Regions from separate parts of the Homo sapiens genome. Here region 1 is linked to region 2. The links are contacts of gene promoters, found by promoter capture Hi-C in blood cells and fetal thymus (Javierre and others, 2016). All regions are on one chromosome and are shown on one strand. The core of a region is centred on a gene start or on the middle of the fragment in contact, and the rest is flanking DNA. Distances in the headings are between cores, read along the strand shown. Region 1 holds the start of LOC105379126 (a long non-coding RNA gene). Region 2 holds the start of MCC (MCC regulator of Wnt signaling pathway).

The links. Contacts are between HindIII fragments. The CHiCAGO score rates a contact against its expected background, and 5 or more counts as called.
Region 1: a contact is called between a fragment that was not itself captured here and the fragment with the promoter of MCC in region 2, in 3 of 17 cell types (naive CD8 T cells, total CD4 T cells and activated CD4 T cells). The highest score is 7.0, in naive CD8 T cells.

Annotation. Positions count from the first base shown.
Region 1 is chr5:112,970,056-112,974,789 of GRCh38, reverse strand. LOC105379126 (a long non-coding RNA gene) reads left to right here and starts at 5. Exons shown (of 2, transcript XR_948679.3): 1 at 5-92; 2 at 2,837-2,979. The HindIII fragment of the contact is 1,357 bases long and covers 2,105-3,461 here.
Region 2 is chr5:113,486,304-113,491,530 of GRCh38, reverse strand. It overlaps MCC (MCC regulator of Wnt signaling pathway), which reads left to right and starts at 3,078. Exons shown (of 19, transcript NM_001085377.2): 1 at 3,078-3,286. The coding sequence starts at 3,117. RefSeq lists an enhancer at 2,885-3,179. The HindIII fragment of the contact is 3,844 bases long and covers 202-4,045 here.

The DNA.
Region 1 (4,734 bases), core at 1,534-4,033, 520 kb after region 2:
TGGGCTCTGGTGGCCAGAAAAAGTCCTACGGCAAAGAAATGCAGATACTAGCAGTTGGACCTCCAGCCAGTGTAGTGGATGGATTGGTAAAGGTAAGAGTGAGCCCCTTCAGTTCTATTTTGCTGGGTGTGCATTCTACCTGTTCTGACTGAATGTCTTTTCTCTGACTGGGAGGCACCATAGTGGTTTTCTTAGTTGTCTCACTTAGAGCTCAAGTCTAGTTTTTAGAGTATTCTAAATGATGGCAGTGGAACAACAGTTCAAGGCAAAGTGGTGCTCACCCACATGGGCCAATGGTATATTAATAGAAACAAGCAGGTTACCAAGCACTTGCTGAAGCACCTGGAGGAATTCTTCTTACTAGCTTTCTAGTCTCCCAGTTTAGGGGCAGCTATACAACCCCTTTTGGGCTCTTAGAGGCCAGGAAGTCCCCAAACTCTCACATGGTGTTAAACCAATCTGCCTTATTAAGAGTTTCTGAGATGTCTGTGGTCCAAGATATTATCTTGCCCATGCCCCATCCCTCCACTGCCTCCTCACACACAGATTTCCAGGAGCTGGACTAGTGCAACCCTTATAGCAGCCCCCCAAGCCATGACTTCCAAAGAAGCCAACTGTATGGTAGAGGCACCTGACAGCAGTAACGTAAGCAGACCCAGGGGAATGACCCTGTGTGGCAGACAACCTGAATGAGTTTGCAGTTACAACCAAGATTCATTCCTTATCTATGAGGAACATCTGAGCCCTGTGGAATGCAGGCTGCACAGGAGGGCTAGGCCCTTTGTTTTGGGCTAAATGAAAGTTGTCAGGTGGAAGCTGTTAGGGAGAGGGTGCAAAATGAAAATGCTATATAAACTGCATGCTTTCTGCAGGTGATGTTGTTCTCATGTCCAGCTCACCTCTAGTGGACCGCTCTGTATGCAAGTTCCTCTCAATAAACCATATGCCTCATTTGCTGGCTCTGGGTCTCTTCTTCAGCCTCTTGAACCTAGTGCCATCCCTGTTAAAGTGAATAGGGACACCAAGGCCTCAATTCCATCTAATTGTTCACAGGACCCAGCTGAGAATGACAAAGGGGAGCTTAGAGTTGAGGTAACAGGAGAACAGGAGATGCTAGGGTTCTTAAATTATAATACTGATTTGATTTTTAAATAATTAGGTTGATTAAAACCTTTATAGTTTTAAAATATGCTATTTCATTTAGTCTTTTTTTTGGAACAAGATCCCACTCTGTTGCCCAGGCTGGAGTGCAGTGGCATAGCTCACTCCTGGGCTCAGTCTCCCACCTCACCCTCCCAAGTAGCTAGGAATACAAGTGCGCACCACCAGGCCTGGCTAATTATTTTTTTAAAAACTTTGTAGAGACAGGGGTCTCACTAGGTTGCCTATGTTAGTCCTAAACTCCTGGCCTCAAGCAATCCTCCTTCCTCAACTTCCCAAAGCACTGGGATTACAGGCATGAGCCACCGTGCCTGGCCTCATTTAGTCTTTATTACTACATGAAATAGACAAAGATTAATGAGGCTTATAAAGATTAAATGACTCAAAGATTAATGATTAAGCAACAGTATATAATTGAGTCAGGACTAGCATTCAGTTCTAAACTCATAGCAGGAATTCTGCCTTAGGGAGAATGACACAAAAACTATTGTTTATGCCTGTACAGCATATTATACTATAATATTCAAATATAATAATCTCACAACAAAATAAGCTGTCACTGAATCCTAAAAAATATTTAACTTGCTTATTGGCCTTTTAAATTGAGTGAGGTCGCCTGTAATCCCAGCACTTTGGGAGGCCAGGGCGGGTGGATCATGAGGTCGGGAGATCGAGACCATCTTGGCTAACACGGTGAAACCCTGTCTCTACTGAAAATACAAAAACTTAGCCAGGTGTGGTGGCAGACGCCTTTGGTCCCAGGTACTTGGGAGGCTGAGGCAGGAGAATGGCGTGAACCCAGGAGGCGGAGCTTGCAGTGAGCAGAGATCACACCACTGCATTCCAGCCTGGGCGACAGAGCGAGACTCTGACTCAAAAAAAATAAAAATAAAAATAAATAAATAATTAAATAGAGTGAGGTTAAATTAAGTCTGTCAAAGCTTCTTCACATCCCTACAAAGTTCTTATGGTTCAACTCAATGTTTATAGAGTAATACATAATTGCCCCTTCTGTTAGTCCCACACTCTTTCTAGTATAATATCTCCCACAGCATATAATATGTTTTAGTAACATCTACCAAGAAACAAAAATCTCCCTTGATCTCTATGGCAGTCTTACTAGATGCTGACTGTATTAGTCCGTTCTCACACTCCTAATAAAGACATACCCGAGACTGGGTAATTTATAAAGGAAAGAGGTTTAATTGACTCAGTTCCACATGGCTGGGGAGGCCTCACATCATGGCAGAAGGCAAAGGAAGAGCAAAGTCATATTTTACATGGCAGCAGGCAAAACGAGCATGTGCAGGGGAACTCCCCTATATAAAACCATCAGGTCTTGTGAGATTTATTCACTGTCATGAGAACAGCACAGGAAAGACCCACCCCCATTATTCAATTACCTCCCACCAGGTGCCTCCCATGACACATGGGAATTATGGAAGCTACAATTCAAGATGAGATTTGGGTGGGGACACAGCCAAACCATGTCACTCACCAATCCCGTTTCCTCTTCCTGGATTCACAGGCCTCCTTGCATTTAGATGGAAAAACGCAATTGAGTTCTGGCCAGTGGAATGAAGATAAACGTGATATACCCAACTTCAAAGCACAGCTCCTGAAATGCTCTATGTAATTTTCACATAATTTTTATTTCTCCCTTTTCTCTTCCCAGCTGAAAGCAAAGAACTCTTTAGATAGTGGAGTCACACTGGAAAAAGCACAGACCCTTGAGTGTACTGCTTGGAGGAGAGCTACCCTGGAGCATTTGCTCCAGATTCTGCATGAGCAAAAAATAAACTTTTGCTGCATAAAGTATCTTGTTTTTTTGTTGTTGGGTTTTTTTTCTCTTTACACACAAACCCTTTTCCATAATCAGTAAATGCAGGTTGTAGTGGTCATTCTTGTTTGCATGCCCAGCACTCATTTACCCAGGGCCAGCTGCATGTGTGTGTATGTATAAACCGTATAGTTGCACAGAACCCTACACTCAGAAAGGCCCCATGTTTGGTTTAATGCTCTGCTGTTACCATCTTGAAATTCTCAATTTTGTTTTTGAACTTGTGTTTTGTAAGTAAAATTGGAGGGACAATAGAGCATGAGCAGAGCCGAGACGTGCAATATGCATGTCCACTCACTCTTTGCCATGCCATTTGCATATAGCATTTGCATTGTCCTATTTAAATAGAATTTCACTGAACTCACAATGCATGAAAGTTCAGCAAGATTCAGAGTAAGAACAACATAGGCACATAGGAACTGAGTAGGTGGGGTCGCTGTCAGCCCTAGGAGGTCAAGCTTCCTGTGTATCAGAACTTGTTCTAATGCAAGAAGACAATGGCAGTCTAAAAACACAAAGAACCAAGAAACTCTATCATATCCTTTCCTATTGCTTTCCTGATTTAGCCAACCCCTTATGCTGAAAATGATGACATAGAAGGAAAGGGGAAGATCGAGCAACCCATCTTTTCCTTTTCTTTTTAGTTTTTTCCTCATCAATAAGAAGGTAGAGAGTGTGGTAGAATATGTATGTGCATATCAAGAAGTGACGTAAAAACAGTTGACTTTCGTACAGCATTTTGACTGTTCTGGTAACAATGAAATATATCATACATGTACAAAGTATGAAATAAGAATTATGTAATTTCAGTGATTCCACGTACAAGTTAAATGTTCTTATATTTGCATTTAAAACCAAAATTGTGGTTGGGCGCAGTGGCTCACACCTGTAATCCCAGCACTTTGGGAGGCTGAGGTGGGCAGATCATGAGGTCAGGAAATCGAGACCATCCTGGCCAATATGGTGAAACCCTGTCTCTACTAAAAATACAAAAATTAGCTGGGTGTGGTGGTGCATGCCTGTAATCTCAGCTACTCGGGAGGCTGAGGCAGGAGAATCACTTGAATCCGGGAGGAAAGATTGCAGTGAGCTGAGATAGCATCTCTGCACTTCAGCCTGGCGACATAGCGAGACTCCATCTCAAAAAAAAAAATAAAAAAGAAAAAAAAAAAAAAAAGCCAGCATTGCATAATATAAAGATGGTAAAAAGTCTTTGTAATGATTTTAATTTTACTTAGAATGAATTTAATTTTACTTAATTTTAATTTTAATCTTTATTTAGAATGACATTAAATATCAAAAACACCATAAGTGAAGAGAGAAACTGTGAAAGAAAGAAAAAGCCTTTATATTCTAGTATTTTTGTTGTTGTTGTAGTTAAGAGATGAGGTCTCAGTTTGTTGCCCAGGCCAGACTTAAACTCCTGGGCTCAGCAATCCTCCTGCGTAACTGATACTATAAGTGTATGCCACCTCGCCTGGCTTTCTAGCACCTTTAGTGACACTTTTTTCCTGCCTTTTGAATAAGGAGCTCTATATTTTCATGAGAGGAACAGGCTCTGCAAATTATGTATTAATAGCAGGCCCTGAATTCACCCCTTACTCTTTCCTAACAGAACCCTGATTAAGACATGTATCCCTTAGCTTCCCTCACACAGCACATGTGACTCTGGGGAAGCCAGAAACACTTTTGGCTCAAAGGCCAAAATCTGGTTGGTAAATCAAACACCACAC
Region 2 (5,227 bases), core at 1,829-4,328:
CTGAAGTGCTCTGCCCTTGTTACAAGCCTTTGCCTGGACCCAGGCTTTCAGCAAAAATCCTTTGACATCTAGGTGGAGACCCCACATCTCCACAGCTCTCGCTTTCTGCAAACCTGAAGAATTATAATGGCATCATATGGATGCCATTAAGGCCTATGGTTCTCATCTTCTTGAGTGACAGGTCAATTCACACCTAAAGCTTCTTGAGCCACAGCTGGCATGTCCAAAAAGCACTGTACCAGAATTTGGGAAGTAAAGACCTGAGAGAGACCTTGGCAGCAAGCCCATGAAAGGTGCCTCATGTCTGTCTCCTGAAACCATTCTGTCCTCCTGCCTCTGGGTCTGTGATGAGAGGAACAACTCAAAGTTCTCTGAAATGCCATCGAGGTCTTTCCTTCTCGTAATGATACTTTCTTCCTTTACTAATCTCTGGAACAAAAGGTTGCTGGGCTACACCCTTGGTTTCCTCTCCCAAACACACCTTTTCACTCTTCACATGGCCAGGCTGAGAGTTTTCCAAATCTTTCCACTTTGCTTCTCTTATGATTGTAAATTCCACCTTTAAAGTTTTTTTCCCCCTCTCACAGCTTGATGTAAGTGGTTAAAAGTAGCCATGCTGCAGCCTGAATGCTTTACTGCTTAGATATTTCTTTGGCCAGATACCCCAGTTTCTCTCTCTCAAGTTCAGCCTTCCAGAAAGCCCTCAGGCATAGAACAGTTCAGCTAAGTTCTTTGCCAATTTATAACAAGGATGGTCTTTACTCCATTTTCTTGTACCTTGTTCCTCAGTTCCATCTGAGACCTTGTCAGAATGGCCTTTACTGTCCATAGTTCCATCAGCATTCTGATTATGACCATTTAACCAATTTCTAAGGAGTTCCAAACTTTCCCTGTTCTTCCTGTCTTCTCAGCCCTCACTAGAACCTAGGCTTTTTCTAGACTGCTGCTTCATTCTTGTAGCCTCTGCTCATTATCCAGTTTCAAAGCTGCTTCTCCATTTTCAGGTATTCGTTTTCGTTAACACCCCACTCCCGGTACTAATTTCTGGTCTTGTCAATTTTCTGTTGCTTAGAACAGACTACCTGAAACTAGGGTGATTTATAAAGAAATGAATTTATTTCTTACAGTTCTGGAGAATGAAAAGTCCAAGGTCAATGGGCCACCCTGCTGGTGGGGACTCTGTGCAGAGTCCCAAAACAGTGCAGGGCATCACATGGCAAGGGGGCTGAGCCTGCTAACTCAGGTCTCTCCTTCTCTTCTTATAAAGTCACTAGTCCCACTCCCATGATAACCCATTAACTCATTAACTCATGAATCTATGATTTTAGTGCCCTGAAATACTGGGAACTTAGAGAATAATAAAGAAGTAAAGTAGGAATAGGTAGATGGGGTGGAGAGGAGGAGAAAGAGAGCAGAGATTCCTTCCTTCTGACCTAGCAGACATTCCCAAGACATATGGACTTGTTCCAGTTATATATTGCTGCATAACAAATCACCTCAAAACTTAATGGCTTAAAACAACAATTTTTAATTATTATCTTCACAGCTCTGGGGGTTGGTTAGCCAGTTTTGCTCAGGGTCTCCAATGCAGTTGCAGCATCTAGAGCTAGCATCATCTCTCACTCATGTCTGGCACCTAGTCTGGGAAGATTCTAAGATCCAGGGCTAGAACAGCTGTAGCTCTTTGGTCATCTCCTTTTTTCTTTACATGGTCTTTCTGCATGGTTTCTCCAGCTTCAGGGTAGCCAAACTTCTTTTCAGGCAGCTCAAGGCTTCAAAGGTAAGTGTCCCAAGGGAGAGAGCCAAGTGCAATCTGCATTGCCTTTTCTAACCTAGTCTCAGAAGTCAAGGCAGTCACAAGTCCAATCCAGGTTTAGGGGAAGCAACAGACTCCACCTCTTGATGAGGGGTGCACCAAAGAATCTGTGGACATATTTTAAAACCACCAGAGAACTTCACACGCCTCTCTGGCAGAAAATCCAGGACAGAATAATGAGTCATTCACGAAACCACAAATTGCTTCACTGTGGTTTCCCTTTGGCTATGGGGGAATAGTGCAGTGTTTAAAGGCTCCTGCTCTGGAGTTAGGCTGCCCGGGCTTGCCTCTGCCCTAACACTTACTAAACCTGGAACCTTGAGCAGGTCTTGGTACCTCAGTTTTCTTACCTGTAAATTGGGAACAATGAGAGCTAACAGTTGTTGAGCACTTACTAGGTGTCAGACATTGTCCTAACTGCATTATGTCTGCTCTCCTTTTATATGTAAGATAACTCTATGAGGTACTTATCTATTAATACTTCCTAAGTCGTAGGATTGATAATAAAAGAGGCATCTTCCAGGTCTGTAGTGTGGATCAAATGAGACCATCTATTATGTTCGCTCTTGGCATTATTAAAGCTGTTGGGGGAAATTCTAGTGATGCCTGGCCAGTAGAGTGAGCCGTTTCCAGAAATTGACCCAACGTACACAATGCCACACAGCGTGCAGACTCTTCCCAGTACAGAGTGGGAGCCAAGATGAGGGCTGCGAGGGCCAGGTTTCTTGACAGGTGTCAAAATTTCATAAAAAGGCCAGTCATTCCGGTTCTCATTGGTGGCTATGGGTACAGAACCCGGAACAATCCTGGAGAGTGGGATTACAAGCACCGTTTTGAGTTTGCAGAAGGAGAGTGTTTATATAGCTTCTCTGGAAAAGGAAGCCATGACTCCGGGCGGTCGGAGAAGGTCTGCCGGGAGTACACCTGCCCTCTGCCTGAAGCGTCCCCAAGTGTCCCGGGCCCGCGTCGTTGCCGGATGCACAATGCTGACACCCTTCCCGGGGGCTTCCAGTGTATTCTGCCTCCTCTTGTGTTCCCGTTGCCACCCTTAGCTCCCTGACTCTTCCAGCCACCTTCCCCTCCTCCCTCTTCCCTGAGGTGCCTCCTCGGGCGATTCCAGAGCGCCCATCTTCCCAGTCCGGGCAAAACCCGGAGAGGTGGAATCCCTCGCCCGGAGCGCCCCGGCGGCCACTGGGCATGCTCCGTTGTCAGGCAAGTTCGGGGCTGCAGGCAGCTTGCGCGCCGCGCGGATTCCAGCTGCGGTCGCGCGTACTCCTCCTCCCAAGTAGGGAGCGGGCGCATGATGGCGGCCGCGGCGGCAGCGGCTGCGGGGAGCTCCAGCAGCGGCGGCGGCGGCGGCGGCAGCGGCAGCAGCAGCAGCAGCAGCGACACGTCCAGCACCGGCGAGGAGGAGAGGATGCGGCGCCTCTTCCAGACGTGCGACGGCGACGGGGACGGATACATCAGCAGGTACGCGGGGAGGTACGAGGAAACCGACAGGAGCGAGATCAGTCCCTCCGCGCGCCCTTGACCCCTGCTCTGCCCCCTCGCCCCAACTTGCGGCAAGTTGCTCAGAAGCTCGCGGGAAAAGTTGGCCGCGACTCCGAGAGCGCGTAGCCGGCTCGGCCACGAAGGCCGAGGGGACTGCTCTGTTCGCCTTGCGGGGGTGCCAGTTGGTCCAACTTTTCCCAGCGCTGTCTTTGTCTAGGCGTTGGGAGACATCTCCTTAGGATGCGCACTCTTCCGGGGGCTTGGAGTGTTCTTCCCTGTGGGAAAAGGAGTTCTGGCCGCTTGTCCCAGGTAGGAGGGGCTGCCCCACAGCCTCGGGGTCCTGGGCATCAAGATGCCGCAGCACGGGGCAGCGATCTGCCCGGCGGCTTGGTGGACACCCCAGGGCCGCACCGGGAGGAGATGAGCTAAGCGACAGCCTCGGACAGGGAAATAACCTGTGAAGAAACTTTCTTGTGCCGCAGAACCCATGAATTCCAAACTTCAGAGCCCAAAGAATGGGTATCGTTTGCCACCCAGTATTGATTTAAACGCAGTAGCCTGAGAGGAACGAAGCGCTCAGGAGCAAACTAGGGCTAGACCCGACTCCTACCCGGCTCTGTGCGCTGACCAGGTGAGCTTCGGCGTGGCTCCGGGCGCCTCCGCGCCTCCACTCACAAACAAACTTTGGGGTGTTTGCTTCGGATCCCCCGCACTTCCTACAGAGGCGGTATTTAAGCTTCCTGCCTCCCGGCTTGGCCAAATAATTACTTCTGCCCAAATTTGTGTCACTTAGACTCTTGTGGTGAAGAAGGCAATCGCAACATTTTCTGGTATGCTTCTATTGAATGGTTGACACCGGCCATTGAAGACTTGGTATCCGTGGAAATTTGAATTGCCTTGGATGAAGGAGCAGCCTAAGTTGTGCATTACATGTTTCTTTAGTCTATGTCTTGGTGATGCTAAAGATCGTTTCTGAAAATCCGGGGCTGCTTCCTGATTGTCCCTGCCTACCTAAAAAAAAAAAAAAGAAAGCAAAGTGCGGAATTTTTCCCTTAAAATAAAAAAAATTATTTATTTGGGACTCAACGCAATTTTGATCATTCTTAGGTGAATTTTTATTACTTTGCTAAAGTTTTACTGAGAAACATTAGGAAGATATCAGAAAACTTGATGGAGTAATTCTGTTCGGAAATGAAAATAATATGTAATTCTGATTGACTCCATGCAAATTTCTATCTGGAAGTCTCGTTATTTTGGTTCTGGGAGTAAAAGAAATTTCATTATATAGTTTTCCTTTTTGTTGTTTTCCTACTTGAAAGGTTATTATCTCATTTGCAATAATAAAGGCAAACTCCAACTTTGGATACAATTTTTTTTTTTTTTAGACAGAATCTCGCTCTATCACCCAGGCTGGAGTACAGTGGCGTGGTCTTGGCTCACTGCAACCTCCGCCTCCTGGTTCAAGAGATTCTCCTGCCTCAGCTTCCCGAGTAGCTGGGATTACAGGTGCCCACTACCACTCCCGGCTAATTTTCGTATTTTTAGTAGAGAAGGGGCTTCACAATTTGGCCAGGCTGGTCTCGAATTCCTGACCCTAAGTGATCCGCCCGCCTCGGCCTTAGGAAGCGCTGAGATTACAGGCCTGAGCCACCGCTCCCCGCATGGATGCAAAAAAGTTTAATTTCACACGGGCAAGAGTGCATACAGAAAACTAGCAGCGTGCTATCCTTTTCTAATTTGGCCTATTAATATATTGCTTTATCTGAACTACACTTTCTATATAAATGCTCACATTATTTTCGGTGATTCTACCCGGGAGGATAATGAATTCTGTAAGCGTAATTTGAGTAAAGTGGGTGGTGATAAAGAAGCCGTTTTGGATTAGAGTAGAAACTGGCTGGGGCAAAAGTGGAAAAAGTT